Regions from separate parts of the Homo sapiens genome. Here all the other regions are linked to region 1. The links are contacts of gene promoters, found by promoter capture Hi-C in human tissues and cell types (Jung and others, 2019). All regions are on one chromosome and are shown on one strand. Each heading gives the region's core, a stretch centred on a gene start or on the middle of the fragment in contact. The rest is flanking DNA. Distances are from core to core; before and after follow the strand shown.

What was found. The method cuts DNA at HindIII sites, captures the fragments that hold promoters and counts their contacts. A contact is called where the count stands out against the background at its distance.
Region 2: a fragment that was not itself captured here is called in contact with the fragment with the promoter of SP140L in region 1 in 1 of the 25 tissues and cell types used here (lymphoblastoid cells).
Region 3: a contact is called between a fragment that was not itself captured here and the fragment with the promoter of SP140L in region 1, in 2 of the 25 tissues and cell types used here (mesenchymal stem cells and thymus).
Region 4: a contact is called between a fragment that was not itself captured here and the fragment with the promoter of SP140L in region 1, in 3 of the 25 tissues and cell types used here (dorsolateral prefrontal cortex, mesenchymal stem cells and thymus).

Annotation. Positions count from the first base shown.
Region 1 is chr2:230,325,905-230,328,482 of GRCh38, forward strand. SP140L (SP140 nuclear body protein like) reads left to right here and starts at 1,289. Exons shown (of 19, transcript NM_138402.6): 1 at 1,289-1,397. The coding sequence starts at 1,366. RefSeq lists an enhancer at 963-1,432. The HindIII fragment of the contact is 8,396 bases long and covers 1-2,578 here.
Region 2 is chr2:230,557,436-230,560,013 of GRCh38, forward strand. No RefSeq gene overlaps it. Among named protein-coding and RNA genes, the nearest start is that of LINC01907, 140 kb to the right of the region's middle. The HindIII fragment of the contact is 4,770 bases long and covers 1-2,578 here.
Region 3 is chr2:230,158,511-230,161,088 of GRCh38, forward strand. No RefSeq gene overlaps it. Among named protein-coding and RNA genes, the nearest start is that of SP110, 60 kb to the right of the region's middle. RefSeq lists a silencer at 1,816-1,885. The HindIII fragment of the contact is 3,967 bases long and covers 1-2,578 here.
Region 4 is chr2:230,458,563-230,461,140 of GRCh38, forward strand. All of the region lies in intron 8 of SP100 (SP100 nuclear antigen), which reads left to right. All of the region lies in intron 3 of LOC101928816 (a long non-coding RNA gene), which reads right to left. Among named protein-coding and RNA genes, the nearest start is that of SP100, 44 kb to the left of the region's middle. The HindIII fragment of the contact is 6,659 bases long and covers 1-2,578 here.

The sequences.
Region 1 (2,578 bases), core at 39-2,538:
GCTCTGCCCTCTAAGATGGGGCATAGTTTACATGGGAGTTGGGGGAGGACTCCATGTTTGCCCCTTCCCCTTGCTGAGATGGCTGGGGGTGGGGGCTGGAAAAAGTTGGATTCAGCAGAATGTAATTTGGAAAACATGGCTCTGGAGCACCATCCCCTCTGGCCCCTGAATCCTCACCAGCTTCCACCCTCTGCTCACCTTGGGCCCTGGATTCCAGCGCCCCCAGGCTCCCAGCTGCCTCCCTGTCTCTGCCCCATGGTCCAGCCTGGAGTTCTGGTCCCTGGTTGTGTCCTGTGGCCCCATTCTCATGCGCCCTTTGCTTCTATTTCTTTACCTATGACTTTATACTGATGTAAAGCGAGTCTTCTCGGTCGCTTCTTGTTCTCTGAGGAATGTTGAATCAGAATCTAAATGGAAAATCTGGGAAGAGATAGAACCTCCCGCGGGAGCCACCCTGCCCTTCCATGTCTAGATCATCTGGGTTCCAACCTCCATCCTCCTCCAATGAGAAGCTTTTGTTCTCTCAAGATTCCAGTGACTTCTCCGAAGCTCTCTTCATCCCTGGCTGTTCCAAGGTGGCCCCATAGTCAAGATTCCTTAAACCCTTGCCCCTTAAAATGTTTGCCTTTCTTACCATGCTGGCTCCAGCCTCTGGTCCCAGGGGTGTGGAGAGTTCTCTCTTACTTCTGGCTGATTTCCAGGAAGGCTAAGAACACTCTCCCCAGGTTATAATGCTGAGCATTTTGGTTCTCTCCAGCCCTGGGTCCCCATGTCAGGACCTACCTTAGTCCAGTCCATGCTCTCCCATGGGCCTGAGAGAAGATTTGAAGTTTCTGGCTTTCCCTCCAACCCTCCAACTCTCACCCCCAGCCATTTCAGCAAGGGGAAGGGGCAAACATGGAGTTTTCCCCCCAACTCCCATGTAAACTATGCCCCCTCTTAAGAGGGCAGAGCAGCTAAGGACTATTTTGGTTCAAGGACATTTTTTTTTTTTTTGCTGTCCATTGCACAAGCAAGTGGACTCCCGGAAGCCAGCCCTGCTCGTCCTCTGGGCCCTCCTTTCCCTGGTCCTGCAGGTCTTGCTGCTTGTCAGGCCTCTCCTCCAACCGTCTGCCACATTTCAGAAAAGCTGAGAACCCCTTGGAGTGAAAAAGGAGGAGAAACACGGTGTCTGTATCCCAGCAGGAAGTTAAATAAATACTTTCACTTTTCTTTTCCCCATTTGGGCAGAAATCTGTGAGGGTGAGTCAGTCTGTCGGCCGACTTCCTGCTCCGGGTCAGGGCAGCCACACTGCACGCAGGCTGGGCCGACTGGGGAGCTCATAGGCCAGGCTCTGACACCCAGGCAGGGCCTAGGGTGGGACGATGGCAGGTGGGGGCAGCGACCTGAGCACCAGGTGAGTCTTTATCTCTCTTCCTTTCACCTTTATCTCTGGCAGTATTGGAGCTTTCATGCCTGTAGTTCAGTTTCTGTCTAAAGCTTCAGTTTAGTCCTGCTTTGCAAGAACATAGGTAGGTAGTGTAATATAATGGAATAAAAGAGAATGTAATAAGGAAATCAGATTTTTACAACTGCAGCAGGACAGCTGTTTGTGTGAGTCCAGCTTGCCATAACACAGATGACTTTTCTTGTTTTGAAACTACTGCTCAGCTGGCGGGGACACTCTGAACAGTCGTTTCAGTCATTTGTGACTGAGAGTTATTATTTCCTCATGAGAATGAGGAACACAAATTATATGTTTGTGTTTCAACAAACATTTCCTCATGATCTCCCAACCCTTTCACATCCCTCTGCCCTCTCTACCTTCACATATGTCATGTCAAAGAAGGTAGTTTGGAAATAGACACTCCAGGGTAAACAGCTGGCTTACTTTTAAACATTGGAAACTGTGGTTTCACCTGTCTTGGCAAGGGGCCTCAGTCAGCTTTGGGGCTATTTCCTTGACTGACTCAGGGTGTGAGTTCTGATACAATTGACCTTGATCCAAAGAAGGAAAAAGAAGAAAAAGGCCCAGGATGGCAGAAAGCTAAATATTTTTATTTTTACTTCAATTTCCTGTCCCAAGATGGGGGATGCCTCTGACCAGAAAAGAGATGGAAATCCTATCTTTTCTCTAGTAACGAGTTTATAAATAACATTACGTAATCTTTTTATTTTATTTCATTTTTTTGAGACAGGGTCTCACTCTGTCAACCAGGCTGGAGTGCAGTGGCACAATCCCGGCTCACTGCAACCTCTGTCTCCTGGGTTCAAGCGATTTTAATCTTTTAAATTTTTTAATACAAAAGAAATACATTACATTCTTACTCATAAAATTTCAAACAGTGGAGAAGTGTATAAACGAAAAAGTCTTCTTCACCACTCACTTCGCCTTGTAGCTTCCTTTCACAGTCTTGTGAAGAGTCTTCGGCATAACTTTTCTCATATTTTTCGATGCATTTACGTGTATGAAGTATGTTTTTGTAAACATATAATTTGTGTTCTCGTTTTGTAATAAATGGAATTACATTGTGCGTGCTATTCTGCATTTTGCATTTCTACTCATTTTAATGGTGGAAATCTTAGAGATCTTTTCAC
Region 2 (2,578 bases), core at 40-2,539, 230 kb after region 1:
GACCCCTTTAATCACAGCCTGGTAGATTTAGATAATAGACCATTGGCCACTGTTTGTCTCCCATTTTTCCACTTCCTAGATAGTAGTTGTATTGGGATTACTCTGTCACTCATCAAACATTGTATATTGGAAGTACAGTAAGGGAAGACAAACTTATTAAAAGGTCACCAAAACATCAAGAACATCATCCAGACCTGATAGGGAGAACTGTACTTCACACAAAGTAAGTGGATATTGGCCTGTGTGCAGTAATTATATGGGAGTTTGTGTTATCTCCTGTAAGGGAGGGGCAGGAAGAAAGAGGGTAAGGGGTTCTATATGTGGGAAGATCGGAAGAAGGGTGATACTTGAGGACAAGATAGAAAGTGTATAGGAGAGACAGCTAGCTGCTTACCCAAACTGTATTTTCCTCTTCTTCCAGGGCACACAGTTAAACTATATTTTCCAGGAATTCCTGCAGGTATGAGTGGCCTATGACCGAGTTCTAGATAGAGGAACATCTGAGGAAGACATGTGCCTAGTTCCAAGGCTGACCCATAAAAGCTTCTTACACGTACTGCCCCACAATCTTTCCTCTGCCATGAACTGGATGGCAGTCTCCAAGTAAGGACACCCTTGGAAGCCATGAGTGTCAAAACCTCCATCAGTCTGAGACCATGCATAATTACATGGAAGAGAGCCCCCAACAACCCAACAACCCTCCCATCTCACCAACTTGTAACTCATTAGACTGTTTTAAAAGAAATAAACTTAAATTTTGTTTGAGGATGTTATATATATTGGGGTCTATTTGTTAGAGCAGATAGCCTAATTTAACTACTACAAAGCAAGCTAACTACTACTATTACATGAATCTTCCAAAATCAAAAGGAATTATTTTCTATTTGTAACATATGCAGCAAACAATTAGAATAATTCTTTTGTAAAGAAAAATATGTTTATATGAATATTAAGAGTTTTATTGGCTTTTCTGTTTTCCAAGTGGCTTTTCCCAAAGTATATTTACTTCTAATATCTATAAGATTTATAAAATGGCAGGAGAAATCTAAAATAGGAATGTGTAAAGTCCTTATGTTGTCTAGAAAATGGTAAGAGTATTAATGTTTACTAGGCATTGATAAACCAAAAATGACTATAATAATGTAATTTTAATGTAATCCAATAAAGAAGTAAGAAGAAGAAAAGGAACATAAAACAGGTAAGACAAATAGAAAACAAGCAGGAAGATGGTAGATTTAAACCTAAATATATCAGTAGTTACATGGAAAGTAAATGAAACAATTTCTCCAATTAAAAGCCAAACATAGCCCAGGCACAGTGGCTCATGCCTGTAATCCCAGCACTTTGGGAGGCTGAGGCAGGTGGATCATGAGGTCAGGAGTTCGAGACCAGCCCGGCCAATATGGTGAGACCCCCATCTCTACTAAAAATACAAAAAAATTAGGTAGGCATGGTGGCGTGTGCCTGTAGTCCCAACTACTCGGGAGGTCAAGGCATGAGAATTGCTTGAACCCAGGAGGTGGAGGTTGCAGTGAGCCGAGATCATGCCACTGCACTCCAGCCTGGGTGACAGAGCAAGACTCCGTCTCAAAAACAGACAAAAAAAAGGCAAACATTGTCATACTGGATTAAAGAAAACCTATAGGCTGCTTGCAAGAGACATGATTGAATATACGAAGATATATAAGTTAAAAATAAAAAGATGGAATAAGATATGCAAACACTAAGTCGTCTCAAAAAAATATAAAGCCGGTGAATGGTATCAGAACATATCACCCCATAATATGCCACTTTGCCATGTTGATTATTTTGAGCTGAAGGCAATTGAGAAACAGCAGATGCAGAAAGGGGTCTCTTTCTTACACCTTTATGCCTAAGAAAAGTGCCATCCCTGTACCAGGAATAGAACATTCTTATCACCAGAGTCAAGGAGTTGAAGCCATGATGAATCTGTACAAACAAACCTCACTAAAATAACCCTTATCTCCCATTAGTTTTCTCCATATATTTCTTAGTCACTTTCCCATAATTTACCACTCTTAGCCCAAATCCTTTTTTCCTTTGTATTGTTACATCTCCACAAGTTATTGCTCTGTGTTAAAATAGTATATAAGCCTCCAGTCAATTCATTTATTTGGGGTTTTTATTTCTTGCTATGATGTTTCCTTTGCCATGTAAAAATACTAATATTAAATAAAATTTCTGTGCTTTTTCTCCTGTTAATCTGTCTTTTGTCAGTTTAATTTATAGGTCCCAGGCATTAAACCTAAGAGAGTAAAGAAAAAAAAATTTTTTCTACACTGGTGTAGACTTTTAAGCAAAAAACACCATTAGGGATAAAGAGGGACGTTACACAATGATAAGAAATTCAACACACACAAAAGATAATTCTACATTTATTGGTACCTAACAGAAAAGCCACAAAATATATAAAGCAAAGATTGACAAGATTAAAAGGAGAAATAGACAAATCCACTACCAAAGTAGAAGCTTGTAACTCACCTCAGTCGCTGATGGCACAAGCAAAAAATCAGTAAGGATGTAGAAAATCTGAACCATGTGATTAACAAACTTGACT
Region 3 (2,578 bases), core at 57-2,556, 170 kb before region 1:
AAAATCATGCCAACATCTTAAGTCCCTCAAGGCGGTGTCAAAGCAGGAGCCAATCCATGACCTACCGAGAGAGGAGAAAGGAAGAAGCCAGTCAGGCAGGCAGTTAGGGTGGGCCCTCAGTTAAATTCTTTCAAACAAAAGAACAGCCAACTTGCACAGAGGGGCTTGCCTAAGACACGCCCACAGCCACATAGATAAGAAAAGCTACACAGGTGACTCACCCAGACACGCCTGCAGTGGAAAGTTCTGTCCCGTAACACATGTACAGTAAGGGGAACAAAGCAATATGGAGTCACTAAGCTAAGGGCCCACATGCACACTTGGAGGATGGGGTGGAGCTAACAGAAATTTGTGTCTTATGCAAATGAGATGCCCAGCCCTCATCAGTTTCTTATAAAAGCCTTTGCATTCAACTGTAAAGACAGCAACCCTCTTCTGGGCCCCCTCTCCATGGCAGAAAGCTTTCTTCTTTTGCTTAGAAAACTTTTGCTCCAATCTCACCTTTTGTGTCCACACTCCTTAATTCTCTGGGTCATGAGACAAAGAACTCCAGGTAATACGTCACAACGAGAGACTGCTACGTCGTGGTGCATTGGTGAGACTTTAACACTAAAAGAGAATACCGTGTGGGCCACCTCCACTCATCCATCTCTCTCTGAAGTTCTCATGACCATGGCTCAATATTAATCTCCTCCCTCCATCCACATGCTTGCTCCCTGCACCCCCAAATCTCATCTGCCCAGCTGCTTTTTTATTTAGTTCCCTTCTCAGTTTAGTTTTTTCTTCTGCAGTTGGCTTCACATTCTATTCTTATTACTGTTTCTGAAAGCTGTTAATAAATAAACAATTAAACTACAAAACATTACAATTAAACAAACCAAGCAATCAACCAAACAATAAACTCTCGGTTGTCACCTCACAGGACAAGGACAGCTCTTGTGATTAAGTTGCAGGCTCTACTGCTGCCCACACCACAGATACCTTAGTTAGATTTGCTCCTTTGTCAAATGTTTAAGTCAGATAAAGGACCAGTCGTAGGGCAGTGGATCTCAAACCTAATTGTGGCAAAACAAAACAAAACAAACAAACAAAAATCACCTAGAAAACTTGTTCAACTGGTTAAAAACACAGATTCCTGGGCCTGAATCCTAGAGATTCCCACCCAGAGCCAACATCCCAGAATCTGCATTTTAGGCAAGCTCCCTGTGATTCTGAAGCAGCGGGCCATAGGCAATTCATTGGGAAGCGGTCAGTGTCCAGATATCTCAGAGGACCCCTCTCTAAGCACTCTTGATTGGTCCCAAAGACCCCCCTTCCCCCAGTAGGCTGGCTTCTTCACCCTGTCCTCATCCTCTAGCATCCCCGAGAGGAGGTCACCTGGGACATTCTTGCAAATGGGAGGATCTAGAATCCAGGTCTCTGCCTGCTGCCGGCCATCCCCAGGCGGGCCTCCTACCAGATTCCAATCTATGAAACGAAAAACTGGGGATCCTTTTCCAGCCCACGTTACTGAGTGCATCTCAGTTGTTTCATTATGCTAGCTGTGAGGTTTTGCACTTGTGACAAACAACAGAAGGGACCTTTTGTCACAGTAAGGAAATCCTCGCAAGCATGTGCCTAAACGTGACTGCCTGCTGCTTCGTCTTTGCCAGTCTCATCTGGAGAGGACCTGGCGCATGCTCTTGGTTGGTTTTCCTCCATCTGCATGAAATAGGAGCCACTGAGAGCATCTTCCTCCCCTTCAAAGCCTTCACTACTTCTTTCTGCTAGTTCCTTGTCCTTGCAGGAGCTTTAATAGCTCAATTCCTTTCCGTCTCTGGAGGGGCCCACAGTGCCCTCTGGTGGTTGAACAGCATGCTACACTTTTTTTTTTTTTTTTTTTTTTGTGGGGTAGGGAGAGGGTGGACAGAGTCTCCTGTCGCCCAGGCAGGAGTGCAGTGGTGCAATCTCGGCTCACTGCAACCTCCGCCACCCCGCCACAGGCTCAAGCGATTCCCTTGCCTCAGCCTCCCAAGTAGCTGGGATTACAGGTGTACACCACCACACTGGGCTAATTTCTGTATTCTTAGTAGAGTTTCACCATCTTGGCCAGGCTGGTCTTGAACTCCTAGCCTCAAGTGATCCACCCGCCTCCTCCCAAAGTGCTGAGATTACAGGCTTGAGCCACCGTGCCTGGCCTATGGCACACTTTTGTAGAAGTCCAGGGTGCCTGCTGCTCTCAGGGCTAGGTCCTGTGCCCATCCTGGGAGAATGGGAAAGCCTCTGTATGCATTCTGCTCTGCCTGAGCCCTCCACAGAGCCAGAACCAGGCCTAGGGGTTCAAGGGTAAACTTCTTTGAGGAACTGGAAACTGAGATGATGATGAGATTAGGGATTGGCTATGAATACAAACTGGGTCATGGTCCAGATACAGAAACATCAAAATCTGACCTGTGGGCTCTGTCTGGGAAAATTTAGGGCAAATTGGCACTTGTAGGTGGCAAGGAGTGGCTTGTTTACCCTGCCCTCCTCACTGTCCCTTGTTTGGACCAATTCTGCCTTCTTAGGAGGACATGACAATTCTTCCCCCAGGATCCTA
Region 4 (2,578 bases), core at 45-2,544, 130 kb after region 1:
GTGGAGTTGTTGAATAGAAATATGTTGCAAGTTACTTTTCAGAAGTTATCATGAAAACGTAGAAATTATGCATGATGCTGCTTGTCAGATTTGCAAAGGAAGGAAGCCCAGGTGAAAGACCTTCAGGAAGGAATGGCAAGTGGAGGGCCTCTGGTGTGGTAGACAATGGCACTGGAAGAGACCTTTCGTAATGATGGGAATGTTTGAGATGAGGAAGATATAGAAAGACAAAAAGTGATATAGCACTCACACATCAGATGCGAAAGTATTTTTGAAAAAAAAGTGACATAGAAGAAGCTTGCAGAGGTAACGTTAATAATTAAGAAATAAGGGCCGACTCAAAGCAGGTAGGAAATGTAACAGAGATGCAACATTACATATGGGACAACAGGCCTGGCACGAGGTGAGGCAGGGAGGCCCCCAGGGCACAGCATGTAAGGAGACCTCACTTGGCATGTGAGACTGAGCTTCCTTAAATTTCAAGGCACCCCATAGCACCACCTTCACCTCACCCTGGTTCTGTCTCTAAGAGACAATAATTTTTAAAAAGTGTAGATAAAAAGACTATGAATAGAAAAAACATAGAGGGAAATAAATACCAAGAAATAGGAAAAATGGAGGGAGGCACAAAGAGAAGTATGCAGAAAATGAGTTAAAGGACAATGAATGAAAAATTGGTAGAGAGTGGATCATGCAAAGAAGGGAAGAGAGAAGACAAATCAAGACATTCTCTGATCTGAGGAGATAAGAGCTAGAAAGGAGGCACAGGGTGTCCTATTACTATGGAGAAAGATCAGCTGCCCTCTTATCAAAATGGCCCCTGTGACTCCACCTCCACCCCCAGATTACAATAAGCCTCTCCTCAGGCATCACTTCCTCTCCATGGCTCAATCACCATCTAAGATCTGTTGATTTCTAAACATACATCTCCAGCTCAGACCTGTCCTGTTGACTCCCTTCCCCAATTGCCTGAAGACCTTTATTTAAAGACCTGAAGAACATCTCTCTTTGGAAGCTGCATCTGTCATCTATTGCTGTGTCATGTAACAAACTATCCTGAAACTTAGTGGCTTAAAACAATCATCATTTCATTTGCCACTTGTGTCAATCCCAACTTTAAAATATCTCTAACTTGTCCATTTCTCTTCATCCCCAGCACGAACACCCTAATCTAGACCCCTGTCACTCTCACTAAAATTAGAGGAACAGTCTCCTGTCTGGCCCCCAGTCTTGCTCCTCTCAAGTCTGCACTTCAGTTGAATGGACTTTTCCAAAATAGAAACCAGTTGATATGACTTTCCTGTTTGAAACCCAGTGCCTTCGTGTGGCCCTTAGCAGTAGATCAACACTGCTTGGAGTGGTGAATTGAAGGATGTCTACCACGCACCTGCGCGTTCCCCGTCACCCACCTCTCGCCCTTTCATGCCACATTCCCACCACACTAAGCTTCCTTTACTTACTGGAATTTGCCAAGCTCTCTTTCTTTCATCTCTGCCTTTATATATGCTTTTGGGAAAACAGTTTGGGGTAATCTTCCAAAGGTGAAAATATACATACCCTATAACCCAACAATTATATTCCTCAGCAGAAACCAACAGAAATGTGTGTTATGTCACCAAAACACATAGAAAAGAATGCTCAAGGCAGCATTATTCATAGAAGCCAAATGCTTGAAATTGTACAAATGAATAAATAATTCATGGCTTATTTCTATAATGGAATACTATCTAGTAGTGAAAATAATTATACAAAACGAATACAGATGACTTTCACAAGCATGTTGAGTAAAATATCCATACAATTTTGGGGGATTTGGCTTCTTTTGGGAGATCTATATATATTGAGAGAGAGGTAAAGGGAGAAAGAAAGAGTGGAGAGAAAAGAGATTATTCCATTTTTATAAATTACACAACAAGCAAAATTAACCTTAGTGTTGGAAACCTCAATGGTAGTTGTCTTTGAGCAAGTTAGTGGAAACAGTTAATGGGAAGTGTCACCAGGAGGTGTCTGGGGTATTGGTAATCTGTTTCTTTTTTTTTTTTTTTTTTTTTTTTTTTTTTTTTTTTTTTTTTGAGACGGAGTCTCGCTCTGTCGCCCAGGCCGGACTGCGGACTGCAGTGGCGCAATCTCGGCTCACTGCAAGCTCCGCTTCCCGGGTTCACGCCATTCTCCTGCCTCAGCCTCCCGAGTAGCTGGGACTACAGGCGCCCGCCACCGCGCCCGGCTAATTTTTTGTATTTTTAGTAGAGACGGGGTTTCACCTTGTTAGCCAGGATGGTCTCGATCTCCTGACCTCATGATCCACCCGCCTCGGCCTCCCAAAGTGCTGGGATTACAGGCGTGAGCCACCGCGCCCGGCCGGTAATCTGTTTCTTGATCAAAGTGATTTACTTCCTTCGTGATCATTCAAAACCCACTTTTATTCATGTGTCTTATACTGCAATTATAATTTTTATTTTTTTTAAAAAGCAAAATATTAACCATCAAAGAATGAGACGAGTAGGTAAAGGGAAAGGTAAAAAACAAAACAGAGCCAAGAGAGGCACAAAGGAAGGGACAGAGTTGAGCAAAAGGAAAA